2 separate regions of the Homo sapiens genome follow, and region 2 is linked to region 1. The links are contacts of gene promoters, found by promoter capture Hi-C in blood cells and fetal thymus (Javierre and others, 2016). All regions are on one chromosome and are shown on one strand. The core of a region is centred on a gene start or on the middle of the fragment in contact, and the rest is flanking DNA. Distances in the headings are between cores, read along the strand shown.

Region 1 (7,290 bases), core at 3,985-6,484:
ACATTATTTTAAAATAAACGGATCTTGCCACAGTATCCAGAAAGATGTTAGACATCTGAGAGCTAACTCTGTGCTGACACTTTTAGTGCTTTACACATAGTCTTTAATAACTCTATAACCCTATAAAGTAGGTAACACCCAAGGAAACAGAGGCTTGAACAGAGTCTCCAAGTGTTGGGGCAGCATTTTGAACTATCTGAATCCAGTACCTCTGCTCTCTGCCCTTTCAAGACCAGCCCTAAAGAGCCTCAGCAGAAGACAACCAGCAACGCACAACATAAATCCAGATGAAGCCTACCAGATGGGAGTGAGGGACTGAGAGAGAATAGGTGGCATTGTGAAAACAGAAATGGCAGGACTTGGCAACAAAATGGAGAGAAGAAGGAAGGATCAGAGGTAAGTCCTTGGACCTTTGAGATGGAAAGAATAGCTGCCCTGCCCCCTAGAAACAGAACTTCTGGGAAAAGCAGTCAGTTTGCAATATGAAACCTAAATTAAAACATGGTTGGTTTAAGGCAAAAGGGACTTACCACAAGTGGAGATGGATATTCCCTTAACAGATCACAGCTGGATATATTAAACTTTAAGTCATGTTCATAGAAAATATGTTTACAATGCATGAAGATTCTTTCAAAGATAAGGCAATCAAAGGTGTCCAGCACAGAAGAGATGGAAAACAAAAACTGGCAAGACAAGGACACCGGATTCTGAAAGAAGACTTTGTGTCAACAATAGCTTCACCAGATTGGTGTACAAAAGTCTGACCATAGGAAGGGGAATTATGACGGCTAAGAAACAGGGCCCATCTACCCATGTTAGGACTCACTGACACATCTTTGTGCCCACTATGTACTAAATACTGTCCTAGGTCCAGCCGTGAAGACCTCTGCACTCATGGAGGTTATGTTTTAGTTAGGGAGAGAGACAAAGAACAAGAAAGCAAATATATGGTCTGGAGTTAGGTAATGATATATGCTCTAAAGGACAGGAAAAAATAAAGCAGAATATGAGAAAGAATGATGTAGGGGGCAGGCATTTGAGATAATGCCATCTGGCAATCAACAAAAATCAACTGAACTCTTAAGAGGAGGTGGCAAGGTGAAATTCAAATTTTTAAAGCTATGAAGCCTTTAGTATATTCATTTAAAATATGTGCTGCCTACTACTACATGAAGCGCTATATTGGTGCTGGAGATTACAGGAAAACACACGCATTTGAAGGTATCTGAGAACTGGTGCACACTGAGGAGAAAACCAATGGCATGTGAAAGGCTGAGGAAGTACAGAGGGGAAGCCAAGGTTCCTGCAGGGCAAGTAGGACAAAACAGTGTCACCCTATGAATGACCTTTTCTTCTGAAGTTGCTTCCAACTTGAATATTCTGACTATATTAGAAAAGGATAGATGCTGGAGCAGTGATATGCTTAAGGGAAAAGAAAGAAGCAGAGGGAGGAAGATTTTTATAAGATTCGGCAACATTCATTCAACAGATAAATAACTGTTTATTGAGCAAGACCTATTGGGTGTCACAAGGATGAGATTCTGTGCTGAACAAAGGTAAGGCCGGGCATGGTGGCTCACGCCTGTAATCCCAGCACTTTGGGAGGCTAAGGCGGGTGGGTCATGAGGTCAGGAGATCGAGACCATCCTGGCTAACATGGTGAAACCCTGTCTCTACTAAAAATACTAAAAAATTAGCTGGGTGTGGTGGTGGGCACCTGTAGTCCCAGCTACTCGAGAGGCTGAGGCAGGAGAATGGTGTGAACCCAGAAGGAGGAGCTTGCAGTGAGTGGAGATCGTGCCACTGCACTCCAGCCTAGGCAACAAGAGTGAGACTCCGTCTCAAAAAATAAATAAATAAAAAATAAACAAAGGTAAGCAAAAACACACAGACATCTCAAGAAGGTTACAGTGAGACTGCCTTTGTTAGCACAGAGCCAAAAAGGATCAAACTGCGGGTATGGGGGAGAAGTAGGTGGATGCAAAAAGGATGGTGAGGCTATCACCCAACTGCAACCAAACTGAAGATGAGGGATCTGATGCAAAAGGTTAAAAGATTAGGGAAGTAACCATCAAGTCCATAGCTTAGGAGTAGTTTAACCGTGGTGTCCTTTCCATCCCACACTAACTACATCTGGATTAAAATCATCTGCTTCCTCCCAAAGATGTGAATCATGCCTCCTTTAATCTCTATATTCCCAATAACTTGTAAATAATGGAGTCTCAATAAATGCTTGGCTAAGGCTAAGTTATAATGACATGAGTAAAACAGGAGAGACTAAATAAAGATTTGATGGGTGTGAGAAGCAGGATAGAAGATTCCTGCTAGGTGTCCAAAGCAATTGTATTTGGCTGACATCTGAATGAACAAGACCCACCAGCAACTGCATCTAACTCACTGGACAGCCCTGAGAAAGTCACCTCAATTCTGAATCTGAATTTGTAAAAGGAAGATATTGGCGCAAACCAGAAGTTGCAGGCCTTTCAGTGGAAAGAAGGTGGCTGTTATTACACTGAAACCTGGAGAGTGCATCTTTGCTGCCCTGGTAAGGGGTACCGGCTTCCCCTTAAGCTGTGCTTCCAAACAAATTATAGAGAGGAGAACATACAGCTGGTATGGCCACCAAAATAAGGACCTTTGAGGCTTGTGAACAAAACAGATGCGCTTGTGTGTGGCAGGTAAGGAGACAGGGGTTTGGAGCAGGAGCAGCAGAGACCAGTGGTAATAAGTTATACAGATCTCAGAGGTGAGACAACAGATAGCCCAAGGAAAGAATGGAAGGGATGGAACAGATATCTATGTTTGCAAGGTGGTTCTCATGTCTGGCATGTACACACCCAGGCACCAAGACACACAATAAGTCAGGGAGAAGTAGATTTTACACAACCTAAAAACTTTAATACTAATTTAACAGCTGTTAGAGCAATAATAATCCATTAGCAAGATCACCTGTAACCTTTGAAAAGCTTGTTTATTTACCATATTTACAGAGTGCCATCAGACTATATTTTGAGATTCTGACAAGTTTCCATTTAGGATCACAGAAAGACCTGACATTTCGGCTTGGCATGGGAAATTATGTAATTTCCCATGCCAAGCTGAATTCCCCAACATTACAGGAAAACCCACAAACCCTGCAGAAGGGAGTGAAAAGCCAATCCAGTCAAAGGAAATCTTCCAGTTCTACAAAAGAAAACAAAAAAACAAATACCACAAAGAGCAATGAATCATTTCTAGTGAATAACTTTTCACTCCATCTTCAATAATGTCATCCTGAAGCCCCTGAAAACTATTAAATTACATATTCTATATTCCTGGTGATATCACTGCCTAAAATTACACAACTTAAAGCAGTGAGGGAGCTGACGACTGGTAAGAAATCTTCAAGGACGTAAAAGGCCAGAAAAAAATCATGTGTTTGAAAATGCCTGCGAAATAATAAACGCCTGAGGGAACTTGATGGCTTTGCTGCTTCTAAGCTAAATAAAGCCTGGGGGGCTTTGCAAAGGTCCTAGTGAGGATAATCTCCATGATTACACAGAGCAAACATCCAATCAATTCCACATGAACCCAGGAAAGTTAATCCAAGAAGAACACCACCACTTAAAATATTGAGAAAAACACACAGTTCTTATTGTTTAAATGCTCCATCAGCGCTGGAGAACGTATCAGGTCATTCTAACAAGTCAGAACACTTGACTAGTGTTTCTGTGACAATGATTTGGCTTGTGTTAACTAAAGGGCAACAAGAAGTTTGCGTTCCAAAGCTCAGGCCTAAAACAGGTCCAATCCCCGACTGCCAGCAGTCTCCCTACTTCCTGCACACCTTTGGATTATTGCACACCGACTTCCTGCACACACCTGGGTTTGAGACACCTTCCCCGAGGGGTTACTCTAGCTAAGTTCCCGAGGCAAGCTTGAAAGAAGTTCGCTGTACCCCTACTCTCGGTCAAAGCACCATCAGCACATGTCGCTTGACAAGTTCGGCGGCAATGGAGTGATCAATTTACATAAACAACTCTGAAGAGATAACGCATCACTGCAAGGAGAGAAAGTCAGCAGGACGACTGTGCCCGCTCCGGGAAAGGCGGCTGCAAGGCTGGCCCGCGGGCAGAGCCTCCGCTGACGTTCACCGCAGCTCCCACCACGCAACAGGTCCACGTAGGCAAGGCCCGGGCGGCCGGCATCTGGGCACCTGCCCCTAGCGCTCCAGGCCCAGCTCTCCCCTGCGCCCATCTCGCGTCCACCCCCGCAGCCACCGCAGGCCAGCCGGCCAAGCCCACCCGCGATAAAGCACGGAGCACATTCCTCATTCCTCCCAAGATGCCGAGATAGTGCGGCCCGCTTGAGCGCTGCCCAGGTCACAAGGTCCTCCGGGACATGCCTTGACTAAAGGAGAGGCGCGCCCGGCCCTTGGTGGGGGAACGACCCCGGGGAGTGGAGGGGGGGAGGATGCAGTGCTCTGTAGCTTCCAGATGGAAACAGCCCGAATCACCCGGCTTCTCACCTGACCGGGCACAAGTGCCAGGTGTCAGTACCTAGCATGGATCTAAGTTACTTAACAGTCCAGAACGCTTCTCCAATAGCACGAGCCCCAGTGACTACGCGCAAAATATCCGGTCACTTTGAATAAAATGAAAAGGAACTTTTACTGGGAAAGGATGGAAGTAAAGAGACAGGGGGAGAAAGAAGCAGGTGAATGCATAAAAGAGGGAAGGTTCCTTCACGCCGGACCCGGAGATGGAAGAGGGGACGAGAGAGGATGGGAGCGGAAGGGACAGCAGACGAGCGGGCAGAGCGCTCAGGTGAGGCCGGACCCTTACCTCGGGCAGCTCGCGGAGCTGGTTGGCGTCCAGCAGCAGCTCCTCCAGGCTCCGGGCATAGCGGTAGATCTCCTCGGGGACGTAGACCAGCGAGCAGTGGCGCTTGTCGATGCTCTCCACATGACGGTTGCACCGCCACAGGGGGATGCAGTGGAACATCGCCGCCCCCGCCGCCGCCTAGCCGGGTCCCGAGCGGCGGAGACCCGGGCTCCGAGCCCGCTCTGGCCGGCGGCTCCGCTCAGTCCGCTGCCCTCTCCGCGCTCGTTGTTGGCTCTTGGGTTAGCTCGCTTCTCGCGCCGGGCTTCGCGGTCGGAAGTGCTTCAAGGAACCTGGAGCGGGAGCCCCTGCCCCGTCCCTGTACCCCCGCCCGCCAGCCGGTGCCTCCACTCCCACCCGCCAGTCGCCGTCGCCGCCCCCGCCGCCGCGCGGAGCTTCCTACTCGCAGCCGCCGCGCGGACTGAGCATGCGCGCCAGTGGGTGCGCGCCGAGGGCGTTTCCCGGCCCGAGGGATGCTCCGCTCCGGGTTTTCCCGGCGACCTGCATCCAGAGAGGGTCGACTGACCTGCGGGCCGGCTGCTGGCGGTCTGCTTACTCCGGCAAAGACGGGGGCGCATCGGGCCGTTTGAGGAAGGCAGACTGTGAAAGGACTTGGGACAAAGATGAGGCGGAGTAGAGGCGGCCTGAGCAGAGCAGAACAACTTTGATATTTAGTTTTATTTAACTCGCACTCCTCTCCTTGCTCCCCTTCCCCAAAACAACTTTCTCTTCCGGGGTCACACAGGACCGCCCCAAAGCGTACCTTGCGCGCCGGGGGCGCCAGGCGCTACTGGATTCGGTGTAGTTTTGAGGTGTTTGCACCACCCTCGCTGCTGCTTTCGTGGCTGCCCGTGTGCCCGCTGCTCACGGCTGCCCCAGAAGTGTGAGCTGGCCGCGCCCGGCCCTCTGGTCCTCGGGCACCGCCTGCAGGCTTTGTAACTTGGGAGCACATCTCTGGTGATCATGGTTTATGCAGTGAGTGATAGTAAATCCTCCTCCCTGTACCAGCAAAGGCATAGGAGTCTGAGAGTCTGCGAGATTCTCATAGATGTGGTTGCACCTGGCAAGGAGCCCAGCTGCAGAAATAAGCAGGCAAACGCGAGTTTCTGAGCCAGTTCCAGCCCGGCCCAGATGTTGGCCCCTGACAACTAGCTGTGGCTGGTGCGGAGGGAGGAGCGAGGGAAGAGGGGCAGATCGAGGCTGCCAGGTGAGCATCCTCCATACAGCTCCTGCTTTTCTGCTACAACCCCAGTCCCGTCCAGCCCGGATGACCGGGGAGGCTCACTATTGGGTTATAACAACCATTCCCTCGCCCCGACTCATTCCTGCGGACCACGGCCGGAATCCTGAACTGCCCCTCTTTGCCTGTAACTGTTTGCAACACAGTCCCCATCTCCGAATAACCAAATTTTCTCCTTTAATGAAGGGTTGCTAAAGTCAAGGTCAATCACAATGATGAATCATTTCCTTGGGGGCTTCTCTGATTCCCCACCCGGCCGCCCCTTCGTTCCACACTTTCCCTTTCAAGCATACTCAAACTCCAGGTTTCCACCTGCGGCCGCTGCCACGCTGGCTCTCCCACACTCACTCCCGCCCTCCAGCTGCTATAGCTAAAATCTGGAGCCACGGAGTTCACTTTTCTATAGAAGACAAAGCTGAGCATGCTCAGTGGCCAAGGCAAAGTTTGGTCGGAAACTAGTTTTTGCATTAGACTCTCCATGGGCTCCATAGACTCTCCTGTACCTTACGACTAGGCACAGGAGCGTTTCCCCGGTGAAATGGAGAAGAGGACACTTGGTCTTTTCAACTTTACTAGGAGGGCTCCTTTCTTCCCAGTCCGTAAGGAGGGGTCTGACTTTCATTTCCACCCCAGCATTATCACCTTAACTCTCATTCCAGTCAATCCCGAAACTCCGTTGCCCTACCCACTTCACCCTTCTTTTGTTTGTCCTGATTTGATTCCTGCGTTCTCACAGAGGGCTACCTGGACTTTGAACCTCCACCCCCCTTTCTACATTCTTGCATTCCAGAAACATATGAAGCTCATTTCTGCCACCCTTCCTAGAAAACTGGTTCCTGACAGAGACATGTGGAAAGGTAAGTAAGTCCCTGTCTTCAAGTTTTCCAACTGCTTTTTAAAAAAAAAATTAAAGAAGGCTAGTTCCCTCCATTTAAAATAATGTGATTTCCAGAGGTTATCACACTAGATTATTTTAACGAACACCAAATGTATTTTAAAGACGTGTCCAGTCTTTTAAAAATTCAGACCTCAATAAGCATTCCTTGTGTGCCTCTCCATGATGCTTCAGCTTCTCTGTGTTATTATTTTTGTATCACCTTAATCCGAAAGAGATTATGACCTCTTAAACAACAGATACTGTCTCACTTGCTTTGTAGATCTGGGAAGCTGCCACAGTGCCATATGCACAGT
Region 2 (7,460 bases), core at 1,277-3,776, 720 kb after region 1:
TATTACTCTAAGTCCAGAAATCACTGTCTTCTGAATTATTAAATATCCATTAAATACATCTTTTAAAATAATTTTCTGCTCAAAACTTAAAGAATCAAGAAAATTAGCATAAAATACATGTCAGTACACCAAAAGTCAAATTATATTGGAAAACCAAATTTTAATTAGAATTGAAAATATAAGCCATCACTTACAGACTGAAGTTATAAGCTTCCAATAATTTTTTAATGACTATATCATCTAGTAGACATTAAGAATGCTGCCAAAAATTCTGTAGGTAAGCCCAAAATCTATTAACATTCTGTATTTCAAAAAGAAAATGTTTTTTCAAATATTTGTTATTTCAAAAATGTAAAGGCCAGGCACAGAGGCTCATGCCTATAATCCCAGCACTTTGGGAGGCCGAGGCAGACGGATCACCTGAGGTCAGGAGTTCGAGAACAGCCCGGCCAACATGGTGAAACCCTGTCTCTACTAAAAATACAAACAAATTAGCCAGGTGTGGTGGCGGGCACCTGTAATCCCAGCTACTTGGGAGGCTGAGCCATGAGAATTGCTTGAACTCGGGTGGCAGAGGTTGGCAGTCAGCAGAGATCGTGCTACTGCACTCCAGCCTGGGCAATGGAGCGAGACTCCATCTCAAAAAAAAAAAAAATTAAAAGCACATAAAAAGTGAACCCTATAAGGTAGACTCTGGTGTGTTGCCCAGATTCCCTTTCAGAAATAAAGAACTTGTTACCCAAACTGCTGAGAGTTCTATCTGAAAACACTTGAGTTGTCAGCCCTTTTGGGTATTGCCTCAGCAAAATCACACTGTCCTCTCAATCCCCACCCAATGACTGATCAACGGCTAATAAAGTCTTGGCTCTTTGCAACTCAGGTCATCTCTGAAAGGGTATTTCATCTTCAGAACTCCCTCGAGGATGGCTAAGCAGTCCATTAAGACTGCATTGCAGCTGGTCTTCTCCCTGCCCATTTGTTTCCCTCTCTCCCTTCCATAGGTGTTGATCCCAAGAATACTCCTTAATAAACTTCCTGCACAGCAATCTTCACCTAGTCTGCTTCCTGGGGAACCCAAACTGGGTTACACGTTCTGCCCAAAGGCAGCCATTGCTAACAGGGATGCATATGTTATTCCTGGCTTCCTTTTTTTTTTTTAAAAAAAGACGTATCTAGAATGTTTTAAATTAATTTTTCTCTATATTCTGTACACTGCTTTGTTGCTACGCTTTTAACCTGTTACACATAGATCTCTGACCTGCAGAATCTTTAGCAGCATTCAATGTCTACTAGATGAGCTGTTCCAAATAATTATTATTAACCTTACAAGTGCAGTGAGACACACTTAACTAGTTACAGCAACTTTTTTTCTCTTTTAATGTATAAAGATTTACTTCATCCTTTTAAATGGCTGTAGTGTTTTCACTGTATGGATGCATCATTACTTAATAACAGGTAATGAATATTTAAGTTGTATGATGTTTTTCCAGATAAACAATGCTATACTAAACATCTTTATAGTTGCATATTTACTTTCCCCACTATTTCCTTAAAATTAATTTCCTGGAAGTAGAATTGCTGTATCAAGGGAATGCATGTTTTTCATTTTGATCCATATCACCAGTCTGCCCTCCAGAAAGCTGTACCAATTTACATTTTCATGTACACTGCATGAGTGTTCTCACAGCTTGGACAGCGATGCACATTATTCACCAATCTGATTAAATTATTAATGAGGCTAATTATCTCTTCAAATATTTAATGGCCATTTGTATTATTTTGCCATTAACAGTCCACTCATATCTTTTTATCCTCTGTTCTTCCAAATATATGAGTGCTCTATGTAATGAGATGAATCCTCTGCCCATATATAATAAACAGTTTTTCCAGCTGGCTATTTCTCTTAACTTTATTTATGATGCCTTTTCTTATACACAGGTTTTAAACTTTTAGGTGGTCAAACCCATCAATCTTTTTAAGATTATGGGTTTTGAGTCATGCGTAAGCCTTAGTTTGAATACTTTAAACCCATGTTAAACTACAAGCAACCATTATTGATATTTCTTTTCACAAAGAAAGCCATAACATAGTTTTAAGTATTCTATAAACCAGTATGGAAACAGTTAAATTCCATGCAAACAGTAATAACCTACAAATACCCATGATTATGATCAATTTCTGCATATGTATGGGAACAATGGAATAAAAATCAAAGACACAATTGAAGAAACATGCCTGCAGATCTGTTTCAGCAGGACTTTCATTTTCTTCATCATCATCTGCTCTGACAGTATCAGAATGACAATCTTCCTCAGCTTCTGCCTGAGGGGGGAAAACCCAAATAATGTCAGGCATATAAACACACCAGTTGCCCTCTGCAATCTACATTTCTCATTCAGCCACTTTCTATTTAGTACCATACTGTCAACACTTTGTGGAACCCACTTTGAGTAGCAAGGCTGTAGGGGGCACTTGAGACCTTACTATTAATTTCCAAAGGAAAATGAGTCTGAAAAGCATATTCTCTACTCCAACCCACAGTACTCACGTTATTGTGAATCCTAACATTTCCCCCCCGCCAAATTTAACATCAGTTGCATCCATCCAAAAATCAATTTAATTACAGTTGTCCCTCAGTATCCACAGGTGATTAGTTCCAGGAGCCCCCAGGACACCAAAATCCCTGGGTTTTCCAGTCCCTCATATGGCATATTTGCATATAACCTATGCACATCTTCTCATATACTTTAAGTCATCTCTAGGTTACTTATAATGTAAATGCCATGTAAATAGTTCTTGTAGTATATTTTTCCTAATTTGTATTATTTTTTATTGTTGTATTGCTTTTTTTCCCCCAAATATTTTTGATCCACAGTTGAATCCCAGGATGCAGAACCTGCAGGTACAGAGGGCCAACTGTGTAATATAAAGTAACAATTCAAGTCTATTACTATTCATAAATGATTTATGATTAATCTAATTAGGTAAATGAAGCCAAATTCTTCATTAATATACATAACTACTGATAATCTATAATAAAAATTATTTTCTCTTTTTCTGGCCAGGTGCGGTGGCTCACACCTGTAATCCCCACACTTTGTGAGGCTGAGGCAGGAGCATCACTTGAGGTCAGGAGTTCAAGACCAGCCTAGCCAACATAGTGAAACCCCATCTCTACTAAAAATACAAAAAATCAGCCAGGCGTGGTGGTACACGCCTGTGGTCCCAGCTAATTGGGAGGCTGAGGTGGGAGGGTTGCTTGAGCCTGAGAGATGGAGGTTGCAGTGAGCCGAGACTGCACCATTGCACTCCAGCCTGGATGACAGAGACCCCATCATAAAAAAAAAAAAAAAAAAAAAAAGGAAAAAAGAAAAGAAAAATATTATTCTTCTTAGAAAAAAATGAAATAAAATTAGAACATCTTTGGTATTTTTTTAGTTCTACAAGACTTTAAAACTTTTTATGAGAAAAACACTTAAAGAGAATTAATCCCTAAGTACTCATGACCCAACTTCAATAATTATCAATGTAATTCCTTAGATCAAATATCAAGTCACAGTATTCATATTTCTCAAGATGTCATATGTAAAATACATATATTTCACAGTTTGTGAAATCAAGATTCAAATAAAGTCCACATTGTAATTGCTTGATATGTCTCAAGTCTTTTGTAATCCTCACTCTTTTTTCTTGTAATTTATTTGGGATGAAACTGGGTCGTTTTTCTGTAGAAGCTAGATTTTGCTGAGGTGTCAATAAATATGTTCCTTTGACCTCTTACTCTTATTTCCTATAAATTGTGGCAGGATCTTGAAAGGCTAGATTAGATTCTGCTATTTCTTTTTTCTTTTGCAAGACTGCCTCATAGGTCATGTTGTATTTTCCATCAGGAGGAGAAATGTTCTAGAATGCAGTTGACAAGGTGCTGTGACAGATGTTCCAAACATAATTGAGTCTAAGGCAAAAAGCCCAAATAATTTTAGTGTCCATAAACTTCTACAAGTCCCAAAACAGAAAATACTCTAATGTTTCATGTTAATGAAATACAACATTGCTTCTTTATAGTTATCTTCTTCACAGGTAAGTTTAATGATACCAATCAGATATAACTTGATACTTGAATTTTTTTTGATACTGTAGAATAAACAAATCCACTGGGTTCTAGGTTAAAATGTATTGTTAGGTGGCTAAAAATAACAACTTTGTTTCAGAAAATAGTAACATTTAGTTGTCCTATGGAGTTCAGCAAATAGTTATTGCTTTCTTGGGACAGAGTCTCCTTATGCAGCCCAGGATGGCCTCAAACTCCTGAGCTCCAAAGATCCTTCTGCTCCACCTCTTGAGTAGCTGAGACTACAGGCTTGTGCAGCCATACCTGGCTGTAGCAGATAGTTTTTGCTTCATGGATCACTTAAGAGAATACAGTCCAGGCAGGGTGTGGTGGCTCATGCCTGTAATCCCAACACTTTGGAAGGCTGAGGTGGAAGGACTGCTTGAGCCCAGGAGTTTGAGACAAGGCTGGGCAACATGGCAAGACCCCGTCTCTACAAAAAATACAAAAATTACCAGGGGGTGGTGGTACACAGTAGCCCCAGCTACTCGGGAGGCTGAGGTGAGAGGATTGCTTGAGCCTGGGAGATGCAGGTTGCAGTGAGCCGAGACTGCACCACTGCTCTCCAACCCAGGAGACAGAGAGAGACCCTGTCTCAAAAAAAAAAAAAAAACACATATATATATATATTCCGTAAGATGATGTCACTTCTTTTATACAGCTAGCATGTTATTAAATGTGTTCTATGAAAATATGACTTCTGTGTATTTTATATGTACTAGGAAAGCTTAGTCAAAGACTTTTAATAGTAAATGCTTTTGTAAAGAAACCCCTTCTATTTTATCTGTCTATAAATCCAATTTTTATATATTGGATCGGCTTCAGTGGAATAAAGCTAGACTGGAATTACTGTGTGTGACTTGGAGCCTAATAAAGGTTTCAATCAGATGACTTTAATTTTATCCTTTTATTCTCAATAAATGTTTGCTAAATTAAACTAAATCCTACCTTCCAGTGAAAATGGCATGTTGCCTCAGTTCAGTCTGTTAGCTAATAGATTTATTAGGAAATGAAACTTGCTCAACACTTACTGTAAAGAAATGTGGCAATCAGGGAAATGGCCTTCAAGGTAAGCTAGATAATAATAAAACCCATTTAATTTTACTGGTTCCAAAGATGGTAAGTTTTACAATTGCAAATTTTAGTCATATGTTATTTCAGGGCGGCCAGGGGGGGGAGGGTAATGTTTATATTAACACACATCTTTAACACAGCTACCAGATATACTTGCACTATATTACAGAACATAAATTAGCCTTGCCTCCTATCTTATCTCTGGCAAGCAGACTCAAAGCAGAGGTGCCTTTCAGACTTGAACCAGTTAGTATATGGTAAAATGCTGGGCACACTGTAAAGCACACATCTGTGAAGAAATAAATGAGATCAAGAACTCAGATGAATTTCTAGAAAAATGGAAAATTTAAGGATTAATGTATTGTCAAATACATTATTTTTTAGTTTCTTTAAGTTGGGAGCTTTTCCTACTAAGAACACCATTAGTAGGAAAATATGTAATGAAAGACTGAGCGTATAAATCCCACTGAGAAGTGTATTTCTCTCTCTTCTCAAGAGTCTGCTTTATTATTGCAAACTCTAAGTACAGGTAATGCGAGGGGACCTGAGTTCTGTGGGGTATCCTTTGTAATTTAGTTTTCTAACTCTTGCCTAGCAGTCATTCTAAACTGACTTCAAGAGCTTCCCCTGCTCTGTCCAGTTGGCTTGCATACGCTGCTTGCTCTATCTGGAATGCCTTCTTCCTCACTTAGCTATTTCTACTCATTCTTCAAGATTCAGCTCAGGGTTCATCTTAGTCAGAAGCATTTTTCAACATTTTTGTGTTCCCATAACACTTGTGCTTACTTTTATCACAACATTTGTACTGAGGTTGGCTGTTTCATTTACTAGATTTAAGGCATCCAGGACAGGAACACATCTCAGTTACCTCTGTAACCATAAGGTCAAACACATTGCTTGATTTGTAGTAAAGGCCTGTCTAGGCCTCAGCTGTCATGTCTATGGGACATCTATAAAGAGGTATGGTGATCTACTGAGGTCCCTTTTCATGTGACATTCTGTGATTAAAAGTTTATCATAAATCACCTTGCAGGTTTGGTTATATTGAAGATCTAGTATTGTACCAGAGTCTCACACTATGCCAGGCTAATAGGTACTCAAAAATATTGGCTGAATCGACAAATAAAATGCCATCTGGATAATGTGTATCTGAAGGATGAGGAAAGGAAATGGGAGAAGTGTAATATAGACAGCATCTTTCTTCTCCCCTGTGTTACAGTGGAGCTCTAAACCATTCTTACTTTGATTTTGACAGTATGATCACAAAAACAAACTATTATATCTGGGATCGGCTGAGTTGACATTTGGTCAATTCAACTACTACTTGAAATAAGTAGGGCCTCAGATGCCACCTGGAGGTTTTCCTTTTATTTTTCATAATCGAGTTTGACCTAAATATCACCTTCACTTGAATAGCTCATGTGTATGAGTAGTCCATGTCTTCATCATGTTACTCCTGTTTCACAGGTGCGATTAATAAATTATAAAGGCTAAGTACTTAATCCCGGTCAGAGAACTACTTCTGAAAGTTTAGGGGCAGGGGCAATTGCCTTTTCTATCCTCCAGATTAATTTAATAAAAATAAATTCAGCCATTCATTTATGCAATAAATATTTGAGTCCACTATAAATTAAATCGTTTGGAATTATTGCATCCCTGATTCTTTAAGCCCCAGCCAGAGATTAGTTTCTCAGATGAACAATTTATTCTAAACCAAAGAAAGGCATAGGGCAGAGACTACGTATTCCAATATGGAACAGTCTCATGGAATCTGCACTGTCAAGCTCTGCAACTTAGCTCAGTCTCTCATTTGGACGGCACCGACGCCGCGGAGACGAACCCTCCAACCCCACTCCGCCAGGACCGCCTGCCAACATCCTCCCAGGGAATGACGCCTCGCGGGGCAGATGCGTCCTACACCCAGGGCTCCTCAAGGTGCCGGCAGGGACTGTCGGTGGGCCTGGCTTTTCCGCAGAAGAGCAATCAACAAGTGTCTCCTCTTGCCAGAGCTCCCTCCCGAATTCAGGCGCTGTGACAGCTTACCTCAATCTATGCTCAATGCTTCTGATAAAATCCCTTGAGAGGACCGAGACTGGTTCAATATACTCAGTGAGCCGAGAAGGGACATTTTCCCCGGCTGTCCTGCAAACCCTCCTCCTCACATCGAGCTCGGCGGGGGTTGGGGAGGCTCAGCAGGAAGGAATCCTGGGGAGAAGCCAGGGTTGGCACCCCCCGCCCCCCGACGCACTCCTTCTCAGGCCAGGGCCCTCTAACG

The links. The method cuts DNA at HindIII sites, captures the fragments that hold promoters and counts their contacts. A CHiCAGO score of 5 or more calls a contact.
Region 2: a contact is called between a fragment that was not itself captured here and the fragment with the promoter of LRRC1 in region 1, in 5 of 17 cell types (total B cells, non-activated CD4 T cells, activated CD4 T cells and 2 more). The highest score is 7.4, in total B cells.

What each region holds. Positions count from the first base shown.
Region 1 is chr6:53,792,949-53,800,238 of GRCh38, reverse strand. LRRC1 (leucine rich repeat containing 1) reads right to left here and starts at 5,234. Exons shown (of 14, transcript NM_018214.5): 1 at 4,824-5,234. The coding sequence starts at 4,982. It overlaps LOC124901333 (a long non-coding RNA gene), which reads left to right and starts at 6,564. Exons shown (of 5, transcript XR_007059619.1): 1 at 6,564-6,698; 2 at 6,890-6,956. RefSeq lists an enhancer at 4,450-5,162 and silencers at 5,129-5,368, 6,414-6,543. The HindIII fragment of the contact is 4,441 bases long and covers 3,919-7,290 here.
Region 2 is chr6:53,065,919-53,073,378 of GRCh38, reverse strand. It overlaps FBXO9 (F-box protein 9), which reads right to left. Exons shown (of 13, transcript NM_033480.3): 2 at 2,236-2,322. Among named protein-coding and RNA genes, the nearest start is that of FBXO9, 4.2 kb to the right of the region's middle. The HindIII fragment of the contact is 4,628 bases long and covers 213-4,840 here.